Linked DNA regions of Homo sapiens: regions 1 and 3 are each linked to region 2. Evidence: promoter capture Hi-C in human tissues and cell types (Jung and others, 2019). All regions are on one chromosome and are shown on one strand. Each heading gives the region's core, a stretch centred on a gene start or on the middle of the fragment in contact. The rest is flanking DNA. Distances are from core to core; before and after follow the strand shown. Region 1 has its middle 52 kb from the start of ZNF44. Region 2 holds the start of ZNF442 (zinc finger protein 442). Region 3 overlaps ZNF709 (zinc finger protein 709).

What was found. The method cuts DNA at HindIII sites, captures the fragments that hold promoters and counts their contacts. A contact is called where the count stands out against the background at its distance.
Region 1: a fragment that was not itself captured here is called in contact with the fragment with the promoter of ZNF442 in region 2 in 2 of the 25 tissues and cell types used here (H1 embryonic stem cells and lymphoblastoid cells).
Region 3: a fragment that was not itself captured here is called in contact with the fragment with the promoter of ZNF442 in region 2 in 6 of the 25 tissues and cell types used here (aorta, heart right atrium, hippocampus and 3 more).

Annotation. Positions count from the first base shown.
Region 1 is chr19:12,240,634-12,245,532 of GRCh38, forward strand. It overlaps a transcript of ZNF44 not described here. Among named protein-coding and RNA genes, the nearest start is that of ZNF44, 52 kb to the right of the region's middle. The HindIII fragment of the contact is 7,661 bases long and covers 1-4,899 here.
Region 2 is chr19:12,363,506-12,368,079 of GRCh38, forward strand. ZNF442 (zinc finger protein 442) reads right to left here and starts at 2,178. Exons shown (of 6, transcript NM_030824.3): 1 at 2,028-2,178; 2 at 1,297-1,738; 3 at 49-166. The coding sequence starts at 126. RefSeq lists a silencer at 1,712-1,891 and an enhancer at 1,992-2,091. The HindIII fragment of the contact is 16,775 bases long and covers 1-3,183 here.
Region 3 is chr19:12,471,130-12,475,593 of GRCh38, forward strand. The region is part of intron 1 of ZNF709 (zinc finger protein 709); the gene reads right to left. Among named protein-coding and RNA genes, the nearest start is that of ZNF709, 11 kb to the right of the region's middle. The HindIII fragment of the contact is 7,611 bases long and covers 1-4,464 here.

The DNA.
Region 1 (4,899 bases), core at 469-2,968, 120 kb before region 2:
AAGAAAATGCTTGCATATGTGGTCAAATGATTTTTTGACAACAGTGCCATGATCATTCAATGGAGAAAGGATGGTCTTTAAACATATGTTGTTGGGAAAACTGGGTATCTACATTCTAAAGAATAAAGTTGGACCCTTACCTTATATACAAAAATTAATTTTGAGTCAAAGATCTAAACTTAAAAGCCAAAACCATAGAAGACTTAGAAGAAGATATAGGAGAAATTTTCATGACATTGGATTTAACAATCATTTCTTGGATATGAAATCTAAAGCACAGGCAAACAAAAGATAAACTGAACTACATGAAAATTTAAAACTTTTGTGCACCAAAAGACAACATACAGAATGAGAACATATTTGCAAATCACGTATCTTGGAAGAGATTAATACCCAAAATACATAGGAACTCCTACAACTCAACAAAACAAACCAATGAGCCCATTCAAAAATGAGTGAGGGACTTGAAAACATTTGTACAAAGATATATAAATGGCCAACAACCACATGGAATAATGCTCATTACCACTGGTGATTAGGGAAATGTAAATCAAAACACCAGTGACAGTTCACAACTGTTGGAATGGCTGCCATTTAAAACAAAAAGTAGAATATAACCAGGGTTGGTGAGCATGCATAGAAACTGCAGTCCTTGTGTATTGCTGGGGAGAATTTTACACACAGCCACTGTGAAAAACAGTATGGCTATACATGAACATAGAAAACCCTGTGACCCAGCAATTCCACTCCTAGGTATGTATCTAAAAGAATAGAGGCCAGGCACGGTGGCTCACACTTGTAATCCCAGTACTCTGGGAGGCCAAAGTGGGTGGATCACCAGAGGTCAGGAGTCCAAGACCAGCCTTCCTGGCCAACATGGTGAAACCCTGTCTCTACTAAAAATACAAAAAGTTAGCTGGGCATAGTGGCAGACACCTGTAATCACAGCCACTCAGGAGGCTGAGACAGGAGAAACACTTGAACCTGGGAGGTGGAGGTTTCAGTGAGCCAAGATCGCACCACTGCACTCCAGCCTGGGCAACAGAGCGAGACTCCGTTGCAATCAATCAACCATGGAAAGCAGGGACTCAGACACATACGCACTGATTTTAGAGCAGTATTCAGAGTAGTCAAAAGAGTTTTGTGGAAACAACCCAAGTGCTCAACATATGGATGGATAAACAAAGTGTGGTGTATCCAATATACCACACTTGGGAATATTATTCAGGCACAAAAACTGAATTACTGGTACATGCTAACATGTGGATGAACCTTGAAAACATTATGCTAAGTGAAATAAGCCAGACACATAAGGACAAATACTGCATGCTTCTACTTACATGACGCACCTAGAATCAGCAAATTCATAGAGCAAGAAAGGAAAATAGAGATTACCAAGGGATGGGGATGGGAGGAATAGGGAATGGTTGTTTAATGGGTACCAATTTTTTTTTGGACTAATGAAAAAATTCTGGAACTAGCTAGCTAGCTGTGATGGTTCTAAAGCACTGTTAATGTATTTAATGCTACTGAATGGCATACTTACAATGGTAAATTCTATGTTACTATATTTGACCTTAAAAAAAATTAAAGGCCGGGTGCGGTGGCTCACGCCTGTAATCCCAGCACTTTGGGAGGCCGAGGTGGGCAGATCACATGAGGTCAGGAGTTCAAGGACCATCCTGGCTAACACAGTGAAACCCTGTCTCTACTAAAAATACAAAAAATTAGCCGGGCGTGGTGGTGGGCACCTGTAGTCCTAGCTACTCGGGAGGCTGAGGCAGGAGAATAGCGTGAACCTGGGAGGCGGAGCTTGCAGTGAGCCGAGATTGCACTACTGCACTCCAGCCTGGGTGACAGAGCGAGACTCCGGCTCAAAAAAAAAAAAAAATTAAAAACTGGCCAGGCACATTGGCACACGGCTCACACCTGTAATCCCAGCACTTCGAGAGGCCAAGGCAGGAAGATCCCTTGAGCCCAGGAAACCTGTCTGGGCAATATAGTAAGACCTATATAGTAAGACCTTGTCTCTCCAAAAAAAAAAAAAAAAAAAAATATGATTTAAAAAATTACCTGGGCATGGTAGTGTGCACCTGTAGTCCCAGCTATTCAGGAGGCTGAGGTGGGAGGATCATTTGCTTGGGAGGCAGCAGTTTCAGTGAGCCAAGAGAACACTACTGAACTCCAGCCTGGGTGACAGGGAGACCCTGTCTGAAAGAAAAAAAATTAAAAACTAAAGACACAATTTGAGCTACTAGAAAGGAAAACAACAATGCCTGGTATAAAATATGCACTGGATTGAATAACCAGATCAGATATTTCAGGAAGAAATTAAGACCCAGCAATAGAAATGACATAATTTTAAATACATGCACTTAACAAATTGCCAAAATACGTCATGCAAGAACACACAGAACTGCAAGGTGACACAGAAAAATTCACAGTTAACTGAAGACTTCAACACTTCTCAGTAATACAAAGATCCAACAGGCGTAGATTCAGTAAACATTCCTTTTTTATTTTAAAATACTTCACAAAGATTGTATATGTTCATGATGTACAGTTATGTTTTGATGTATATATATACATTCTGTAATGGTTACCACAGTCAAATTAACACATTGATGACCACCCATGCTGTACATTAAATCTCCAGAACGTGTTCACCTTACAACTTGGTTTTTAACCTTTGACCAACATTTCTCCATTTTCCCTACCTTCTGGACTCTAGTAACCACCGTTCCTCCCTCTGCCTCGGAGTTTAAGTTTTTAATATTCCACAATTAAGTGGGATCATGAAGTATTTGCCTATGTCTGCCTTATTTTATAGTGTCCACCAGGTTTATTCATGTGACAAATGTCAGGATTTCCTTTTTACGGCTGAGTAATATTCTGTTTAAATATACATCACACTTTCTTTATTCATCCATTAATGGATGCTAAGTTTGTTTCCATATGTTGACTATTGTGAATAATGCTGTAATGAACATATGCGAGTGGCAGATATCTCTTTGAAATACTGATCACTGCCTTTGGTCATATATGCATATACCCAGGAGTGAGACTGTTGGATCACATGGTAGTTTTTGTTTTTTTTTGCAGAACCTCCATATTGTTTTTCACAATGGCTGTACCAATGTACATTCCCACCAACAGTATACAAAGCTTCCTTTTTCTCTGTACTCTAACACTAATCTCTCTTGATAGTACCCATCCTTGCATGTATGAGGTAACATGTAATTGTGGTTTTGATTTGAATTTCTCTAATGATTAGTGATATTAAGTCCCTTTTCATTTGCTTTCCGGCCATTTGTATGTCTTCTTTGAAAAAAATGTCCACTCAGGGTTTTTAAATTTATTTTTTCTTATTGTTTTTACCCCTTGCAGAAACCAGTCTATTTTTCTTAATTTGTTAGTTTTTTGAGATGAGAGGGGTCTCATTATGTTACCCAGGTTGGTGTCGAACTCCTGGATTCAAACGATCTTCCTGACTCACACTTCTGAGTACTGGGACTACAATTGGGCACCACTATGCCCAGCTAATAATTTATTTATTTATTTATTTTAGACATGAAGTCTCCCTATGTCGCCCAGGTTGGTCCCAGATTCCTAGCCTCAGGCACTCCTCCCAAGTACGTGGAATTATAGGCATAAGCCACGGCACCTGGCCTCCTAAACTTATGAGTGTTCCAACTTGTAATAGACTTTGAAACATATACAACTTGTTGGTGCGTCCCAGGCCAATCCTCACATTTGGCTTTGATTAGCCTTTATCAAATTATTCTGCCTCAACAGACTTAATTTTGGTCAACAATTTAACTGAGGTACTTTATAGATAACAGTGTCCATTATACCACAGGAAATACTTCAGTGTTTAAATAATGAGAAAAGCAAAAGCTGTTCCCAATGACAGCTGCTCCCCAACTCACCACAAGGCGAAGTCTTACCCTGTTGAAAACTGTAACAAACCTCCATCAGACAAAGCTACCAGGTGACCATAATGGATCAAAATGAAATTCTGTAACCATGTCTCCGATAACCTAAAAGAAAACAGACTCCAAACTTTAAAAATGACCAGAAATCTCCTAATATGACTTGTGCTTCTTATGAATTAGTGTTAGTGCCACTCTATTCTTTCTGCCTCCTAGATAAGAACTATTAGAATTTTCCAAGGATGGAATTGAGTTCACCTAACAGCATCCAATACAAACACCTCACTTTGTTGAATGGCAATGAAATCACCTAAAAGAAACACAAATCCTATAAGAAGTCCTCTTGAGCACCCTCTTATGGATAACCCTCCGTCATTGATGCTTTGTGTTCATCCTTATTACAACTCTTTACATGCCACTCTTTGACTATAGGTGTGATTCTAGTGGTCTCTGGCAAGATGGCACAGACAAAAGCATGCTTTGTTCCTGTGGTATTCTAAATGAGAAATTAGATTCATGAGAAAAATTGTGACCATGTAAGAATTTTAAAAAATTTTTTCCTTTACATTTTCTTTAACATTTTTTAAAGAAAAAAAGTACTTGGACTTATATGCAAATGGTAATACTGACTCATTATTTAGAATGTATAATGAATAACCTGACAAAATTACAAAGTTGACCTGAAAATGCATAATTGCAATGGGATATTTTAATATATATTCTCAGGTAATGGAAAATATTAATACAATAGTTGTTAGTATACAAGTTGTTTTAAAAGAGTTAATAAAATATTTCTAAGAAATACCTGCAGAAGTTGTTTGATAAAAATGCATTGTTTTTATCATGTACAAACATAATTGAGAATGTGCACATGATCACATTTGGCTATAATTGGAAATTCTCACGATCTGCCTGACCTAAGACATTTGTTTTCACATAGACTGTGTCAGAGCAGTTACTGCACAAT
Region 2 (4,574 bases), core at 928-3,427:
ATGGGAGGTTCTTGCACAACTGGAATGAGTGGGTTCTCCAGTGCTTACATATTGTTTTCTCTCTTCATTAGTCTGAGAGTCAGGAAGGAAGAGATCACTTCTGTCTTCTCCCCCAAATACAATCATTCAACTGGCTGACCAGCCGTGTGTCCCCAAGGAATGGAAACTGGGGTTGGGGAAGAACAAGGTGATTGTCCCAAGGGTTAGCTTTTTATAGAAATGGTATACCAGAATATTCCTCCCATCCCACCCAGGGCATCCAGCTGTTCTCTGTGAGGCCCCACCCCAACACCTCAGGCTGCTCACTGGGAGAAATGACCCAGGGACTGATATTCACTGGACCCTCCCAGAGACAGGGCAGCTGTGTGTATCTTGGGTCAACCCCAGGCAGTTCTGAAACAGAACCAGGAAAAGGCAGAGAGTGGGCTGAGAACACATCACCCCATAAAGTTTCTAAAGGGGACTTTCAATGTTGATTAGGTATCCGTACCCAGGGGAAAGAAAAGGAGAGACACAAAGGTTTTTTTGTTTGTTTTTTTGTTTTTTACAGTGCAGTGTCAGGTTATTCTCTGCTTCCTCACATGTGAAATGTTCAGGAACACAAATCTTTTAAGAAGCCGGCCGGGCGCGGTGGTCACGCCTGTAATCCCAGCACTTTGGGAGGCCGAGGCGGGCGGATCACCTGAGGTCATGAGTTCGAGATGAGCTTGGCCAACATGGTGAAACCCCGTCGCTACTAAAAATACAAAAAATTAGCCGGGTGTGGTGGTGGGTGCCTGTAATTCCAGCTACTCGGGAGGGTGAGACAGGAGAATTTCTTGAACCCGGGAGGCGGAGGTTGCGGTGAGCCGACATCGCACCATTGCACTCCAGCCTGGGCAACAAGAGCACAACTCCATCTCAAAAAAAAAAAAAAGAAAGAAAGAAAAAAAGAAGCCATCCATTGCTCTCTGAAAACAAAATGAAAATTAAAATACTGGGACTCTGAAATTTAGCACGGGTGGGGCGGAGGAGGGAGGAGTTCATGATGTTGCTGTGAACTGAGGAGGGAAAGTTAGCCTGCGTAAGGCTCTGGAAACCAAGGGAGTTACTACCACCCCTAGGAGGAGTTAGAATGAGGGAACAGGGTAGTGGATTTGAGACCCTGCTACCCCCATCTCTGAAAAACTCGAAGAGGAATCAGTCACCCTGGGAAGAAAAGAAGGGACTGGGGACCCCGCAGACCACAGCTCCTCCCGTGCACAAACCCCACGCAAGAATCTGGATTCTGATTGCAGTTAGATATTAACCAGGTACCCTGAGCCCCACTGCCTCGCGGGGGCCGCCTTCCTGAGAGTCAGGTCACAGAAGACACTGACCGCCGGCTTCTGCATTGTGCCTGGGGATAAGATCTCGGAGAGCTGCTCGAGTTGCCCAAGTTCTTTCTCAGATCTTGAATTCCAACGGAAAGGCTGGCGCCAAGCAGGGTGAAAACCCCACGAGGGAACCCACTCAGCAGGAGAATGCGGTTTCTTCACCTCCCGTCCCAGGATTCGCCTGTCACTTCCCCACCAACCAGCGACCCCACACTTCAGCCGCCCCTGTCCAGACCCCTAAACACCCCCATCCCCAAACCTCTCATGGAGGCGGAACTGGGGTCTTCTCTCCTCTCCCCCTATTAAACTGTTTCTGCTGCAGGCCTTGGAGTCTCGGTGCAGTGACTCGGACCGCGAACCTGTGCCGGTTACAGCCGCACAATCTGGGAAGACGCGGAGCTGTGGGCATGGAGCTGCCCCAGAGAGGGCGCGGGAGCCGGGGCCGCAGTTGCTGCGCAGAAACGGGACAGGACGCCCGGGGTCCCGGCTGCCGGCCCAGCCCCCAGCTCCCACCCCGCGGCCGAGGGGACTGAAGGCCGGCTGGGCCAGGGGAACTCGGGTCCACAGACCCCGCAGTCGCCGCGGGGACGCCCGGGTCCCGCCACAGCCGGTTCTGGCCGGTTCCAACCAGTCCTTCGCCCTGCCCCAGGACGCCGGGCCCCGCACACTCACCATTTCCCGGCTTCCGCGGTGTCCCGTGTTCTCCCCAAGGTTCCCCGCTGCCAGCATAGGACTCAGCGTGACAGTGCCTGCCACTGACCTGCCAGGGCTTCTCTCAGCTACAGAGCCAGGAGCGGGAGCTCAGAGGGGTGTAGAAAGCTCCACCCTCCTCCCGGCAGCGCGCCTGACTGGCAGTTCCCAAGAACTCGCCCCCAACACTGATTGGGTAGAGCTCCAAATTCCGCCCCCCCAGGGAACTGATTGACAGAAGAAGGATCTTACACGGCTGAGTGGAGCGAGATGAAGCGGTTCCAGACACAGCCCTTGATAGGGTGGGCTTCCTCCCTTCGCTGTGACCTGACCCCTCCCAGGGGACATTTGCATTTAAGCGGAATTTCCTGCCTGTACTCAATGGGCTCTTCCTGCTCCTTCTTCCTGGACGGGGACCCACAAGTGTGTGCTGGGAATTCGAGACTCACTGCCCAGTGGAGCCATCCCCTGGCCTCAGAGCGGTAGGGGAGGCCCAGGCCACACAAACCACACTGAAGCAGGAGGGAAGGCCTGGTGTCCTCCAGGGATCAGGAATTTAGGATGAGACTGCTGGCTCCATGGTCAAGCCTTTCTCCCACCTTATCTCCCAATCTACTCATTCTCAGACCAGAAAATAAAAACACATCAACAATGAAATAAAATTGTTAAATGCATGGAAAATCTGGAATTATATGGCAGTAATCTTCTATAAAGGAATCAAAAGAAGGGAAAAGAAAAAACCTGAATTAGTTCAGAGAAATTTCAGCCACAGTTCAGCAGGAAACCCCCTTTCAGGAGGTTAAACATATTTTCAAGCTTAGAAGGCAGATTCTGACTCCTGAAGTTGAGTCCCAGAGTGTGTAACCAGCAGCTTAGCAGCTGAGTCTCAAACCACGTTTTAAACCTTTTTTTTCTTCTTCTTTCCCTTTTCCTCTTTCCCCTCCTGATCTCAAGATAATAACTTCGAGATAAACTGCATAGATGTTACCTCTCATCTTAAAATACAGCCTCAGAATGTGCTGTGAACTTCCACTCCCTTTCCTTTCCCATACTACACTGCCATGCCTTATGCACATTTATTTTTATTTTATTTTTTTGGAGACGGAGTCTCACTCTGTCACCCAGGACAGACTGTAGTGGCTCAATCTTGGCTCACTGCAACCTCCGCCTCCCAAGTTGAAGCAATTCTCCTGCCTCAGCCTCCCGAGTAGCACACTGGACTACAGGTGCACGCTGCCATGCCCAGCTAATTTTTTTGTATTTTAGTAGAGACAGGGTTTCACCATGTTGCCCAGGCTGGTCGTGAACTCCTGAGCTCAGGCAATCCGCCGGCCTCGGCCTCCCAAAGTGTTAGGATTACAGGCGTGAGCCACCACGCCTGGCCTGTGCACATTTATTTACCTAAATACTTATTAAGCACACACCATGCTCTCTTATTTGGTCATATATTTCCTTAGAAGCTTCAGGGGTTGGATCTTGTTAGGTACCAGGCACCTCTGGAATTCTCTTTCCAACAAAAGATTACTTCAAAGACAGAACCCACACCCAGCTGAAGAGTGACTACTATCGGGGAAACCAGCCCCCAATATTTCAACGTAGGTTCTATTTTCCCTAAGTGTCGGCCCATCTGAGAAATTAAGAGAAAGAGTACAAAGAGAAGAATTTTACAGCTGGGCCTCCAGGGGTGACATCACATATCGGCAGGTTCCATGATGCCCACCTGGGCTGCAAAACCAGCAAGTTTTTATTAGGGATTCTAATAGGGGAGGGGGTGTACGAACAGGGAGTAAGTCACAAAGATCACATGCCTCAAAGGGCAATAAAAGATCACAAGGCAAAGGCAAAATTAGAATTACTGATGAGGGTCTGTGTCCTGCTGTGCATGCACTGTCTTGATAAACATCTTAACAGGAAACAGGGTTCGAGAGCAGACAACCAGTCTGACTAGAATTTACCAGGCTGGAACTTCCCAATCCTAGTAAGCCTGAGGGCACTGCAGGAGACCAGGGCGTATTTCAGTCCTTATCTCAACTGCATTAAGACAGATACTCGCAGAGCAGCCATCTATAGACCTACCCCCAGGAATGCATTCCTTCCCCAGGGTCTCAATTATTATTATTATATATATTTTTTTGAGACAGAGTCTCACGCTCTGTCCCCCAGGCTGGAGTGCAGTGGCACAATCTCGGCTCACTGCAACTTCTGCCTCCTGGGTTCACACTGTTCTCCTGCCTAAGCCTCCCAAGTAGCTGGGACTACAGGCGCGTGCCACCATGCCCGGCTAATTTTTTGTATTTTTAGTAGAGAAGGGGTTTCACCGTGTTAGCCAGGATGGTCTCGATCTCCTGATATTGTGATCCACCCGCCTCGGCCTCTCAAAGTGCTGGGATTACAGGCATGAGCCACCACACCTGGAAGGGTCTCAATTATTAATATTCCTTGCTGGGAAAAGAATTCAGTGATATTTCTCCTACTCACATGTCCGTCTATAGGCTCTCTGCAAGAAGAAAAATATGGCTTTATTCTGCC
Region 3 (4,464 bases), core at 1,084-3,583, 110 kb after region 2:
ACTTGTTGCTTGGGGAATTGAGCCCATTCCATGTGATTACATCAGGAAAGAACATTTAAAGGCTTGGTTGCATCTGCTTTCCTCCACACCAACTATGACTAAATAAGGCTAATAAAGGATATTTAATAATCCTAATTTTAAAAATGTTATTGGGTAATGTCAAAGCAGAATTAAATTAAGGTGGAAGTTGGTACATGTTCTCAGAACAAACTCAGTGTCAACAAGATGCCACTGCTCCCAAATGATATCTTTATAAAATTCTACAAATCCCTAAAATAGACTTATAAAATTCTTAAAATAGACTTATAAAATTCTACAAATCCCTAAAATAGTCAAGAAAAACTACTTTTCCAAACCTAAGAGGAACAATAAATGTCAAACAATGGGTAAAGTCTTTTGAAGAGCAACATAAATACTTGCCTAGTATGTATCAAGGATTTTCAAACTATTAACACTCCAAACAGCATGACACACAGAGAGCTAAATAGAACAAGGGAGGGGAAAAGTGTCTTCAATGGACTGGCATTTATAAGGAAAATTGATTAATGATAGAGCAACCATTGTAGGGTAGTGGAAGAGATCACTAACACTTCAATATATGCAGAAGGGACACACTGTTGTCTAACTGGAAAAAGCATTGCATCAGCTCTTTTCCATAGACAATAATCAATTTAATGTAGATTTAAATGTGAATAATATAATTAAAACTGTTTCAAAAGTCACAGGCAAACTTTTTTAAATGCAAGAGTAGGGAGAATTTTCTCATGTAAGAGTAAGCCATAAAGGATGAGACTGAAAAGTTCAAACATACTAAAATCAAGAAAGTTAAAAGACAAATCACAAAGCAGGAAAAAAATATGTGACATACATGCAATATAAATGAACTAGTATGCAGAGTAAAAATAAATGAACAGTCAGGCATGATGGCTCACACTTGTAGTCCTAGCTACTCAGGAAGCTGAGGCAGGAGGATCATATGAACCCAGGAGTTAGAGGCTGCAGTAAGCTATCACACCAGCCTGGGTAACAGGGCAAGACTCTGTCAATAAATAAGTAATAAAATAGCCAAATAAATAAAAAGTGAACACATGATTTAAAAACGGAAACACAGGCCAGGCACGGTGGCTCACATCTGTAATCCCAACACTCTGGGAGGCCAAGGCGGGTGGATCACCTAAGGTCAGGAGTTCAAGACCAGTCTGGCCAACATGGTGAAACCCCATCTCTACTAAAAATACAAAAATTAGCCAGGCATGGTGGTGGGCACCTGTAATCCCAGCTACTTGGGAGGCTGAGGCAGGAGAACTGCTTGAACCCGGGAGGTGGAGGTTGCAGCGAGCCCAGATCGTGCCACTGCACTCCAGCCTCGGCGACAGAGCGAGACTCCATCTCAAAAAAAAAAAAAAAAAAGGAAAAATAATGAAAACATATTTAAGAGAGGATGACACACCATATATATGAAAAAAGGTCTGGCTGGGCACGGTGGCTCACGCCTGTAATCCCAGAACTTTGGAAGGTCGAGGCGAGCAGATCACTTGAGGTTAGAAGTTTGAGACCAGCCTGGCCAACATGGCGAAACTCTGTCTCTACAAAAAATACAAAAATTAGCCAGGTGTGGTGGCACGGGCCTGTAATCCTGGCTACTCAGGTAGCCAAGACACGAGGATTGCTTGAGCATGGGAGGTGGAGGTTGCAGTGAGCCACGATCGCGCCACTGCACTCCAGCCTGGGTGACAGAGTGAGACTCTGTCTCAAAAAAAAAAAGGAAAAGGTACATCTCGCTCCTTCCTTGATACAGCCAAATGAAATACCAAATAGATCCAATTTCTTACATATTAGAAGGACAAAAATCAGTCAATTAGCTACTCCCAAGTATTGATGACCACTGCCAATAGACAAATAGTTATGCATGAATGGAAGAAAGATCAACTGATACACTCCATTGCTATTTCCTGTATATTTGAACTTGACCATAATCTATAGCACAGTGATTTTTCTCCAACATCCAGAGAAGTTATTGTGTATTTGTACTTAGACACAGATACCAAAACAATAGGATCAGTATTTTTCACAAGAGCAAAAAATGAACTGGAAAAAGCCCAAACACCACCATCAATGGATTGGATGATAAAATTGGATTCCCCCAGCCTGTCACTATCATGTGAAACACAGAGGCAAAACCACTCAAAAACCTTTTCATTGTTAATTCCACTAATACTCATGTATTTAAAGTTCAAATAAGGCTCAACTAAAAGAACATCACATAGTGAAATGGAAGATAAAGGTATAAAGAATAATCAAATAATCAAGACTGTGGCCATCTATGAAGCAGGATGGAGATAAGCCAGAGGAGAACATCAATAGACTAATTAATGACTGACCAAAGCTCACCTATAAATTTATATTTTTAAATCACTTATTGAGGCAATGATTGACATGAAAAAGTTGTACATATTTAATGTATACAACTCAATGAGTTTGGGGATAAGTATACACCTATGAAGCCCTCAGTATCATAAGGACATAGACATATTCATCACAAAAGTTTCTTTCCCCCTTCATTATTATTACTATTTGTGTGTCTCTCTATGTGTTAAGAATACAACATAATATCTATTTTAGAAATTTTAAGACTAGGCACAGTGGCTCACACCTATAACCCCAGCACTTTGGGAGGCCAAGGTGGGAGGATCACTTGATGCCAGGAATTCATGACCAGCCTAGGCAACATAGTGAGATCACATCTCTAGAAAAAAATGTAAAAATCTTAGGTGGGTGTGGTGGCATTTGCCTGTAGTCCCAGGTACTTAAGAGGCTGGGACAGGAGGATTGCTTGAGCCCAGGAGTTTGAGGCTGCAGTGAGCCACGATTGTGCCATTGCACTCCAGCCTGGATAATGGGGCACGATCCCATCTTAAAAATGAATACAAATTTTTAAACATTTTTAAAAGGAATGTTTAACTATAAAATCATTGTGTTGTTAGCTATAGGTACTATGCCATATAGTAGATCTTCAAAGCTCATTTATCTGCATAACTGAAGCTTTGTATTCTTCAGCTTCATCTCCCCATTTCCCCCTTCCCCTGCAAATTACCATTCTACTCTATGCTTCTATGAGTTTGATTATTTTAGATTACATATATAAGTGAGACTACAAAGAATGTGCCTTTCTGTTTGGCTTATTTCACTGAGCATAATGTCCCCTACGTCCATCAATGGTGTTGTCAATGGCAGGATTTCCTTTTTTTAAAGGCTAAATCATATTTTATTTTATGTAAACATCACACATTCATCTGTTGACACACATTTAGGTTGTTTACATATCTTGGCTGTTGTGAACAATGATGCAATGAACATGGGAGTGCACATATCTCTTCAAGATGTTGATTTCAATTCCTTTAGATAAATATGGAGAAGCAGAGTGCTGGATCATGTAGCAATTCCTTTTCTAATTTTCTGATAAACATCTATGCTATTATCCATAATGCCTGTATCAATTTAAATTTAAACTTCTACCAACAGTATACCAAGGTTCCCTTTTCTCTAAATCCTCACCAACACCTGTAAGACTATAAATATATGTCTTAGCAGAAACCTTGGATGTCAAGAGAGTGGGACAATACATTCAAAGTGTTAAGCTAATTAGCAACACAAAAAGATATGAAAGTATAAAACTCATGGGTAAAGGCAAAAGTATAGTCAAATCCAGAATATTCTTATACATAATGGTGGTACAAACATCACTTTCAACTCTAGTATAAAAGCTAAAAGATGAAAGTATTTAAAGTGACTATAGCTACCATAACTTGTAAAATGGACACTGAATATTAAAAAGATGTAAATCCTGGCCAGGCACAGTGGCTAACACCTGTAATCCCAGCACTTTGGGAGGCTGAGGCAGGCAGATCACCTGAGGTCGGGAGTTGGACACCAGCCTGTCCAAAGTGACAAAACCCTGTTTCTACTAAAAATACAAAAATTAGCCGGGCATGGTGGTGGGCACCTGTAGTCCCAGCTACTTGGGAGGCTGAGGCAGAAGAATCGCTTGAACCCAGGATGCGGAGGTTGCAGTGAGCCAAGATCGCACCACTGTACTCCAGCCTGGGCAACAGAGTGAGATTCCGTCTTAAAAAAAAAAAAAAAAAAAAAAAAATCTAAGCATCTACATGAGGAAAGCAAGAAAATATGAGCAAATTAAACCCAAAGTAAGCACACAACAGAAGAAATAGTAAAAAGAGAAATTAAACAAAACCAAAGGTGTTTCTTTGAAAAGATCAATATATTTGATAAATGTATGGTTAAGCTAACTGAAAAACAGAGAACAGAAATTACTAATATCACAAATGTAAGTGGGAAAAATAAAAATGAAAAAGCTATGGGCAAAATCCAACATGCATTTATGATAAGAAACTGGAGATAGACTTTCCTCTTTTTGAGAAGCAGTATTTATAGGAAACCTGCAGC